Linked DNA regions of Homo sapiens: regions 2 and 3 are each linked to region 1. Evidence: promoter capture Hi-C in 16 types of primary human blood cells and fetal thymus (Javierre and others, 2016). All regions are on one chromosome and are shown on one strand. Each heading gives the region's core, a stretch centred on a gene start or on the middle of the fragment in contact. The rest is flanking DNA. Distances are from core to core; before and after follow the strand shown.

Evidence for each region. Contacts are between HindIII fragments. The CHiCAGO score rates a contact against its expected background, and 5 or more counts as called.
Region 2: a contact is called between a fragment that was not itself captured here and the fragment with the promoter of HAVCR1 in region 1, in 2 of 17 cell types (M2 macrophages and M0 macrophages). The highest score is 8.4, in M2 macrophages.
Region 3: a fragment that was not itself captured here is called in contact with the fragment with the promoter of HAVCR1 in region 1 in 1 of 17 cell types (naive B cells); the score reaches 5.3 in naive B cells.

The regions. Positions count from the first base shown.
Region 1 is chr5:157,057,829-157,061,378 of GRCh38, forward strand. HAVCR1 (hepatitis A virus cellular receptor 1) reads right to left here and starts at 1,288. Exons shown (of 9, transcript NM_001173393.3): 1 at 1,093-1,288; 2 at 70-127. The coding sequence starts at 115. The HindIII fragment of the contact is 9,361 bases long and covers 1-1,403 here.
Region 2 is chr5:155,127,976-155,131,286 of GRCh38, forward strand. No RefSeq gene overlaps it. Among named protein-coding and RNA genes, the nearest start is that of KIF4B, 120 kb to the left of the region's middle. The HindIII fragment of the contact is 3,905 bases long and covers 1-3,311 here.
Region 3 is chr5:155,102,837-155,106,345 of GRCh38, forward strand. No RefSeq gene overlaps it. Among named protein-coding and RNA genes, the nearest start is that of KIF4B, 91 kb to the left of the region's middle. The HindIII fragment of the contact is 4,206 bases long and covers 1-3,509 here.

The DNA of each region.
Region 1 (3,550 bases), core at 38-2,537:
CTACCCCATTCTCTGGCTTCTAACCCCCCTCTACTCCCTTCTTCCCGCCCAGGGCACCTACTCACTTACCTGCCAGATGTAGGATGAGGCTTAAGATGACCACTTGAGGATGCATTATGGGATCAGCCTGAAGGAAAATGAGCAGACAGGCTGGTTGGTACCCTCCACCAGATGGTATCTGATCAAGTCTTAAATCTCAGATTGCAACTTATCTTTTCACCCAGTTGGTTGATTCATATGAGCCTGCTCTGCTGGAAATGAGAGAAGACCACATATAACGGCTTCAGAGCTCTGTTAGTTCCCTGCAGCTGAGAGCTCTGTGCCTTCCAAAGGACAGGGAAAGCTGTCCACAGAAACAGCCCCTGACTTCCCAGCTTCTTCCCCACACATAACCGCCAAACTGACTCCTGGTCCTGATACAGGGTATCAGGGGAACAAACAAAAAGGAAACAGGGCCGGGCGCGGTGGCTCAAACCTGTAATCCTAGCACTTTGGGAGGCCAAGGCGGGCAGATCACGAAGTCAGGAGATCGAGACCATCCTGGCTAAAAGGGTGAAACCCCGTCTCTACTAAAAATACAAAAAATTAGCCGGGCGTGGTCACTGGCGCCTGTAGTCCCAGCTACTCGGGAGGCTGAGGCAGGAGAATGGCGTGAACCCGCGGGAGGCGGAGCTTGCGGTGAGCCGAGATCGCGCCACTGCACTCCAGCCTGGGCGACAGAGCAAGACTCCGTCTCAAAAAACAAAACAAAAAAAAAGAAAAGAAAAGGAAACTGGAAGCAGAGAACCAGCGTGGCTCAATGGCAGCACGAGAGCAAATGCCAGCCTTCCAGTGGCAGAGATGCACTTGCTTTTCAGAGTAAACTGGGCCTCTGGTGGACGTGGAGCTTTTCCTACTCAGTGGCCACAACGACTTATCCCTAGCCTTAACAGTCATATTGCCAAGTTTGCCATTAGCAAGAGAAATTGAGAGTGAATGTGAATCACTGTGCCTAACCTTTCATGCTCCTGTACAACATGCTTCAGACTACACCTCCTTACCAAGGGACTTCAAGAGAATGCTTCAGGAAACAGAAGTCTGGAGCAGACTTACGTTCAGATCCAGGCTCTGTCACTCACAATGCTGGGTAACCCTGAGAGTTCCTGAGTTCTCTTCAAACCTCTATTTCCTCAGTTGTAAAATAGCACTAAAAATGCTTCCTCTATCTCCCACCAAGGATTGATATAATAAGCAAAAAGGGCCACGGAAGAACTTGGAAAACTAAACCTACATCATATGCAGTAATAGCACTAGCTGAGGTTTTTGGAGAATACTATATAGCAGGCTCTGTGTCAAGCACCCACATGCGTTAAATCGGGCTGTTGACTTCTGCTGTTAATCATTAAACCATACAAACATGAGTAAGCTTGCCTAGTACTTCATTAACTCCTCTTCTGGTCTAAGAATTCAGTAACTTCCAAGGAGGCAGTGGTGGTCTGTATCTTGCAGCTCATGACAGGGTTCATGGGGAAGTGGATGATCTCAGCATAGTGTTTTGTATGGCAGCGTTTAAAAATTCATTTCTTGACCGGGCATGGTGGCTCGTGCCTGTAACCCCAGCACTTTGGGAGGCCGAGTAGGCCAGTCACCTGAGGTCGGGAGTTCAAGACCAGCCTGGCTAACACGGTGAAACCCCGACTCTACTAAAAATACAAAAATTAGCTGGGGGTGGTGGCGGGCGCCTGTAATCCCAGCTACTTAGGAGGCTGAGGTAGAAGAATTGCTTGAACCTGGAAGGTGGAGGTTGCAGTGAGCCGAGATCAAGCCATTGCACTCTAGCCTGGACAACAAGAACAAAACTCCATCTCAAAAATAAAAATAAAAATTCATTTCTTGCCAGGCACAGTGGCTCACGCCTGTAATCCCAACACTTTGGGAGGCCAAGGCAAGTGGATCACCTGAGGTAAGGAGTTTGAGACCAACCTGGGCAACATAGCAAGACTCCCTCTCTGCAAAAAAAACGAACAAAAAATATAGTCAGGCCTTGTGTACCTGACCGTAGTCCCAGCTACTCAGGAGGCTGAGGCAGGAGGGTTGCTTGAGCCCAGCAGTTGGAGGCTATGATTGTGCCACTGCACACCAGCCGGGGTGACAGAGCAAGACCCTGTTTCTTAAGGAAAAAAAGATTGAAAAAAAAAAGCTAATTCAATTCAACCAGTTATTACTAACATATTGAGCTGATGGGACATGACTCAATATACTAGGGACGTCAAAAATCCAGACTTGTGCAATCGGGCAGGGACATGGGTAAGTAAGCAACTAATGAAATCAGGATAAGTGAGGTAAAGGTAAATATATAATCAGACTACATCATTCCCCCACTTATAACCCTCTCATAACTCTCTCAGAAAAATAATAATAATAATAATAATAATAATTCCTAAATCTTTACTCAAATTACTGAAGCCCTGGTGGTCTGGCCCTGACCTACCCCATAGATTTCTTCTACCACTCTCTCCCCTGCTGACTCAGCCCCAGCTACTAGAGCTTTCTTTCCAACTTGCCTCAACCCTAAGGCCTTTTCCGTGGCTGTGTTCTCCATCTAGCTCCCCAGCCCCACCATTTTCACTTTTTTCCTTTTCATTTTTATCCCGGCTTAAATATGACCTCCCTGGACATTTTTCACAGGTCCTTCAATCTAAAGTAGCCAACCAGTCCCTCTCACTATTATTATCTTGTTTTCCTTAATCCATTTTATCTGTGTGTGCAATATATGTGGTGTCTGTCTCTATTCCCTCCTATAGAGTGCTGCCCGGTAGAATTTTAGTAATGGAGTTATTCTGGTAACGGAGTTATTCTGGAACTGATGAGCCACAGAGAGCCAAGACAGGGATGTGGAGCCAGTGCTCTGAGATGTTACATAACTGTACAATTCCATAGGATTTGAATTTGAATTCCATAGGATCGATTCTGTCTCCAGTAGAATATTGGTTACAGAGTTATTCTGTGTGAGTGTCGTGCACTACAGCAGCCACTAGCCACATATGACTATTGAGCACTTGAAATGTGGCTAAGGCAACCAAGGCATTTTTAATTTTTTTTTTTTCCAAGACAGAGCCTGACTCTGTCACCCAGGCTGGAGTGCAGTGTCACAATCTCAGCTCAGTGCAACCTCCATCTCCTGGGTTTAAGTGATTCTCTTGCCACAGTCTCCTGAGTAGCTGGGACTACAGACACGCGCCACCATGCCTGGCTAATTTTTGTATTTTTAGCAGAGGTGGAGTTTCACCATGTTGGCCAGGCTGGGCTGGAACTCCTGGCCTCAAGTGATACGCTCATCTCAACTTCCAAAAGTGCTGGAATTACAGGTGTGAGCCGCCATGCCTGGCCTAAAAATTTTTATTTAATTTCATTTTAATTAAAATTTCAGATTGCTTGAGCCCAGGAGACAGTCTTCGGGGAGTTGAGATGGCACCACTGCACTCAAGCCTTAGATGACAGAGCTTTCAAAAAAATAAATTAATTAAAAACAAAAAAATAAAATTTAAATTGTCACACATAGTGACTGTGT
Region 2 (3,311 bases), core at 658-3,157, 1.9 Mb before region 1:
TTTAAATAAAAAATATTATCTAACTAATATTTCAGGTTTTATGCAGATTTGGCAAAGATTGGGAAGGAGTATGCCAATGACTGAAGTTTGCATTATCTCATTCCTTGCAACAACTCTGTCAAAAAATGCTATTTTAATCTCTATTCTGTGTATTAAGAAATTGAGATTTATAGAGGTTAAGTAATTTGCCACGGTCATCCAGCTAGCAAGTGCAGAGCTGGGATTTGAACCCAGGCTTTTGTGACTCTGAGTCCCATGTTTTTAACCCCAAGAATGTAAACCTTTATAGACAATGAAATAGCTGACAGGTGAAGGTAGGCTTCCAGAATATGAGAGCCGGAATGGCCTTATCAAACATTCAGTCTAGTGGTGTCAAATCTTTTACTACTAGCACCCTTTTTCTTCTTTATTTTTCAATTTCTAAGAGTAGTAACTGAATTTAATGGTATAATTAATTTATTCACTCAGTTATAAATTAATTAAAGATGTGCAATGCCTACAGGAGCTTTGGATCAGCTTGAAAGAACTAGTATGGCCTTGGGGTTTAAAAAAAGTAATTGAGAATAGATTGAACCTCTGTTAGCATCTTCATGGATTCATAGTATCTGTGGTTTCTGGGTTAAGAATGACGGATCTAGGCTGCCTCCCTGTTTATTAAGATACAGAGAAAGAGAGTGGTTTGGTCACATGTAAGTAACTGGCAGGGTCAGCAGTCGAGTCCAGATAAAGGGCAGAGGTGCCCTTCCCCTCTGCTGTGCCATTCTAAGGGGCCCATTCCTGCTCCAAGAGCTTTTGTCCAAGGACTCAGCTTCCTTCTTGTTTCCTACCACTCCTGAGCCCCTGGTTTCTTGTCATCATTTGTAGCTCTTAGCTGAATCACAACCACACTGTTTTTCCCTCCTGGAAGTGCATGCACCTCAAAAGTGGTCATAAGGTGGTTGTGAAGTCATCCCGAAAATGCTCTGGATTTCTCTCCAAGTCCGTGCCTTCTCTAGTGACATCACTATGCACTGTATTACCGTAGAAATCATATTAAAAGAGCCTCCTTGACTTTGCCTTTGCTCCTCCTCTCCAGGCTCATAATTTGCTGTTTCCCCAACACTCTGGCAACACTGAACTACTTTCCTTGAAACTGCCATGTTCTTTCTTACCTTTTAGCCTTTGCAGATGCTGTTCCTTCTTAATAACAAAGAGAGTGCTGCCATTTATTTGGCACATACCCTGCGCCAGTCTCTGTGCCAAGAACTCTTTGTTTATTTAATTTGGCTTTTATCATAGCCCTATGAGGAAGGAATTATTATCCCTACTTAATATATAATGACAATGAGACACAAAGAGAATTAGTAACTTACCCAAGGTCACACAACCAGCTAATGGCAGCGCCAGTGCCAAGATTTGAATCTGCAAAGTCTGACTCAGGGCACACGCCTTGACTCATCTCCCCTGCCTTGTGATCTCCCATTCACATGGCTAATTTTTATATGGTGCCTGTTAGGTCTCAACTTTAATATTGATTCCTCTTGGAAATCTTTTTCGATGCCTCTTGACTAGGTTAGAATTTGGTGTTGCTGTTTCCACAGCATCATCTGTTTCCTCTACTTTGTGGTAATTTTCTCCTTATCTGTGATGTCTACCAGATAGTGAGCAATATGTACATCACAGCTGTAACCTTCACACCCAGCACAATGTTGATCATATAGTGAGTATGCAGTACATAACTGTTGACTGAGTGAATATTTCATCTTTGTTCCCTCTGGTTCTTAATCTCCATACTTAGTCATCACACATTGTAATTCCTATCCCTGAAATACCTTCCCTTTCCTATGCACACCCCCATTTTCTCACCTCTATCTTATTTCTGTCTCATGATCTCTTGTGTGGACAATAAAGTTCTCAAACACTTATTCCCACAAGTGGACAGTTTATTGGGTGATAAAACAACAAGGTTATTTTTGAAATAAGGTTGATCATTTTCAATGGCTATGGCTCAACTACCTGTAAACAATCTTTGGATCTGGAAGTGAAGAATCCTTGCCAGCCTGTTTTAACATCACTGAACGTCTCAAACCATCATTCAGGTAGACAGAAAGTTGGCCATGGATTAAACTGTGGTTTGTTGGTACAAGTTATGGGTTTTAGGCTGGATGCAGCTAAACTTTGATTCCTGAATTTTTCTGTAATTTTATATGGGCTTTGTCAAGTTGGAAGAGTATATACTTTCAGTTGATCAAAGCCAAGCAGCAATATTTTAAAAACTCTTGGTTCAGAGAAGAGTGAAGTATTCATAACCCAACCATATGGAGAAAGTTTAAGCTGCAGAACCTCCTGGAAGTTTCAACACACACTCACCATGACCTTATGCCTACTTAAGCTATAGCTGAAGTTTTTGATGCTGTTTGCATTTTGACCTCAATTCTACCTTCAACTTTACAGACTCAGACTTATTTGGTTCCTAGCTTCTCACACAAGCCTTTCTTTACCCCAGAAGAAACCAGAAATACTTGAGTTCAATTTTGCCATCAAGCATTTTATATACCACACTTAGCTTAAAATAAATTAGATGTACAGAAGAGATATGTAGTCATAGGTGCCTTCAAACATATTTCAAGGTAATACCACACATGTTTATATGCAATTGTACTTTCACAATGCCAACAGCATAAACAAAATCTTTTCGGGAAGGGACTTTTGAAACACCCTGGCAGTGATTCTCCCAACCAGTGACCCTGGCTCTAAGCTCTTTCTCTTCAATTCCATTCTCCTTGCTGCCACCTTAAACAAAACTCTGGCCATGTCTCTCCTTTGCCTAAGAACCTGAGCTTTTAAGACCTTCAACAAATTGAGCCAAATAACTGTTTGGCTTTTCCCTGCCCTATAGTCATCATTCATCATGCTGGGCTGCCCACCCTGAACAGGTCACCTAATCTTCTGCCATTCTTCCTTAGCTGTTTCTTTTGTGTCTCCCTGGAGGATTTTCTCCCCATATGTGACCTATTTTGTTTTTCCATCCTTCTCAACCTTATGGAAAAGGCCCCACCTCTACAACATTTTCCTAGATCTTCTTAGTCAGGGAAAATCTCTCCCTTGTATTTCTGAAACAGGAGAGTCCTCTGAGTCCCCTCGCAGGACATGCAACAGTGGTGTGGCTTGTCTGTTTGGTTGCTGCCGCTGCTCAAACCCCTTATGGGAGGGGGAGCACGCAGATGGACAGGTGCAGGAACCCTTTCTTGCAAAGGCAGAGGGCCAGTATGACAGCTTTCTGTATCCCGAGCTCTTGTCCAGTGTCTTGGAAGAATCAGGTGACACATGGA
Region 3 (3,509 bases), core at 313-2,812, 2.0 Mb before region 1:
GAAACTCAAGGGAATGGATTTGGGGAGGTGACTTACAGTGTCTGCATAAACTTTCTATAAGGAGAGTCTGGCCTAATTAGGAGGGGTTTAAGAAAGAAGTTAAAGATGGCTTTCATTATGTCCATAGACTAGGGTCCTCGATAAGACCACAGTTTGAATTCTTTTTCATGCTTGTACTTTCTCACTCTTATATTTGTTCCTTTTCTCCCCTTGCCTCTTCATAGAGATCTATTGCAATTTTTAGTACCAAGAGCAAATGCTCCTGTTCCTGGGAAATCAGGGGATGCACAAGTAGCGTGTTCTTAAAGCAAATGTGACAGTTACAATAGGGATTCGGCCCCCAGATGGGGTCATCAGAACCCAATGTGACAGCTACAATGCATTCCTGATTCCTCATAATAAGCATAACAGCCTCTGAGAATATCTCAGCACAAACTAGGTTATGAATGATTGATTAATAAGTGGATGAGTGCTGTACAGATCGCCATATGCCAGTTCTGCTGAGAGCCATAATCTCCCATCTAACATTGCCTTATCACTGAGCTCACACAAGGAGGCCTGTTCTTTGTGGAACAAAGTCAGGGATGTTTTCCATGACTCATATTGGAAGCGTCCCACAGAAAAAATGGGATGTTCCATAGTGGGCGGATGAAATCAAAGTTGTTAGAAAGTCTGTTTATAAGTCTTCCTGTCTGTGTGTGTGTGTCTTTCTGAGTGTGTCTCTGTATCTTCCTCTGTTGTATTTCTGTATGTGTTTCTACACGTGTCTGTGTTTGTATATCTCTATGTGATTGCTGTGTGTGTATATGTCTGTGTGTGTGTCTCTGTGTATGTGTCTGTGTGTGCATCTCTTTGTGCCTGTGTGTCTTTTTTTTTTTTTGAGATGGAGTCTAGCTCTGTCGCCCAGGCTGGAGTGCAATGGCGTGATCTTGGCTCACTGCAACATCCACCTCCTGGGTTCAAGCGATTCTTCCGCCTCAGCATCCCGAGTAGCTGGGATTACAGGCGCCCGCCATCATGCCTGGCTAATTTTCGTATTTTTTAGTAGAGAAGGAGTTTCACCATGTTGATCAGGCTGGTCTCAAACTCCTGACCTCAGGTGATCCACCCACCTCGGCCTTCCAAAGTGCTGGGATTATAGGCATGAGCCACCGCGGCCGGCCGTCTGTGTGTCTTATAAAATTTATTTTTATTTTTAGTTTTTGTGAATTATCTAATTTTTTACTTATTCTCTAGAGCCCAGTTGAGCTCTTTTGCAGGTATATAGTAGGTGTGTATATACTTGTGGGGTACATGAGATGTTTTGATACAGGCATGCAATATGAAGTAACCTGTGTGTGTCTTTCTGAATGTATCCCTCTATATCTCTGTTTCCTGTCTCTGGGCATGTGTAAGCCTGTCTCTCTGTGTGTTTTGGCATGTGAGTATATTCCTTTCTATGCAAGTATCTTTCTGTGTGCAGGTTTCTCTATATGCACATGTGTATCCCTGTTTGCATATGTGTGCAGGCACATGTGTGTGTGTTGTGTGTGTGTTTGTGTGTGTGTAGAGTTCAAGCGCAAGTGGAAAAGAGTAACCTGAGAGGAGGAAGCAGCTCCCCTCAACCCCCCCAGGAGATCTAGATAAATTTAAGGCAGGGTAACATCATGTGAAGAGTGCGGAATGGCCGCTAGGCTCCCTGGATGTTCAACCCCATTTTCCCTTTAACTCACTGCATGATTTTCTGTGATTGATTTCAATTCTCTGGGCCTTAGTTCTCTTGGAGATAATACTACTTGCTTAACCTAGCTCACAGGGATTTTCTGAGAATGAAATAGTAATGTAATTTCAAATGCTTTTGAAAAAGTTAAAAGCAGTATAAAAAGGAAGGCATTAAATGGATTAACATTGGACTTGATTCAGGGAAAACCTTTATGTTCAAGATATGCATGGAAAGGGGACTTTGATTCAGCTCAGAATCTTTGGTTGATAGATCATGAAGGTTGAGTCAAATGTGCTCTGGGGGAGGAAGGGAGAAAATCAGCTTCATGCTGAAGAAGGGCTCCTGCTCCAAATCAGCAAAGACAAAGAAGGTTCATTTTGGATGCAAGTTCTGATCCATTAATGGTGGCTACTTAGAATATGATGTGAATAAGGTTTTGAGGGCTGCGTCCTGGCCAGGGTGATAATAATGTCACTTGGGGTACCTGCCATAGACGTCAGGGACTTAGAACATGCAGGCTATGTGCTTACTGTCCCTCCCAGAGCAGGGTGCTGGCTAGACAATATCAGACTTGGAGTCTGAAGACGGGGGCTAATGTCTTAGAAGTTGCCAAAAGTAAAAATCTTTGTAAGTTTTAAAGTCATTTAACTTCTCTTCTCTCATACTACCTTGGTGATCCTCCCTTAGAGGGTTGGACAACAATCCAGTTTAATTGTTGGATTCGTCCATAGATTTGTACAAAGTGGTATAAAGACAGGGTCTTATTTGAATTGGGAAAAAGAGATGATTTAGATTGTCATCATGGATGTAAAGAATCTTCCATGCTCTGCCATCTTAATGTAACCTCTCTCGGGTTGGTATTGTCACAAGTTTTAAAAGAATTCTCTAATTTTTTACTTATTCCTTGGAGTCCAACTGAGCTCTTAAGAAAATTAGAGACCAATGACATCACATAAACACCATAACACTTTTTTTGTACCTTGCCTGTTCAATATTTCTTTTCTTTTCTTTTCTTTTTTTTGAGACAGAGTCTCTCTCTGTTGCCCAGGCTGGAGTGCAGTGGCATGATCTCCACTCATTGCAACCTCCGCCTCTCAGGTTCAAGTAATTCACCTGCCTCAGCCTCCAGAGTAGCTGAGATTACAGGTGTGCACCACCATGCCTGGCTAATTTTTGTAATTTTTAGTAGAGACAGGGTTTCACCATGTTGGCCAGGCTGGTCTCGATCTCCTGACCTCCACCTCAGCCTCCCGAAGTGCTGGGATTACTCAATATTTTCTTACCTTCCAGCCCTTACTTGAAGATTCGGAGGTCTTCCCACAATAGCTTCATGACTCAGCACATGTGCAGCAACTTAATTTTCTTTTCTAATGCTCCTTCAACTAGCCCTTTTGACTTGAGTGCACAAACTCCTTTTCCCTTTATCAGAATAAATAATTGGTGTCATTTTGTGTAGGCGAGCATGCATGAGTGTGTGTGTTGGTATCAGATATCGTTCACCTGATTATTGATTCTTTGCAAAAGTCAATAGCAAGAGAAATGTTGTTTAAATAGGTTTCATGTATCTTTTTTTCTAATTTGGGGGATTAGAGGTAGCAATGTGGGCTGGATGACAGTATGAGGAGGAAGCCGAACATTGCTTTTTCATAGAGCGATTGGTTTTATGAAATACCTCATGTCAGGCACTGCTCTAGGCACTGCGGATAGAATGAGAAAAAGGAAGACACAATCCCTTTCCTCACTTTACTGAAGATACAGTTGAACACACAACTGCAAATGGGTGAGGCATTTGTTTCTGAGCACACAT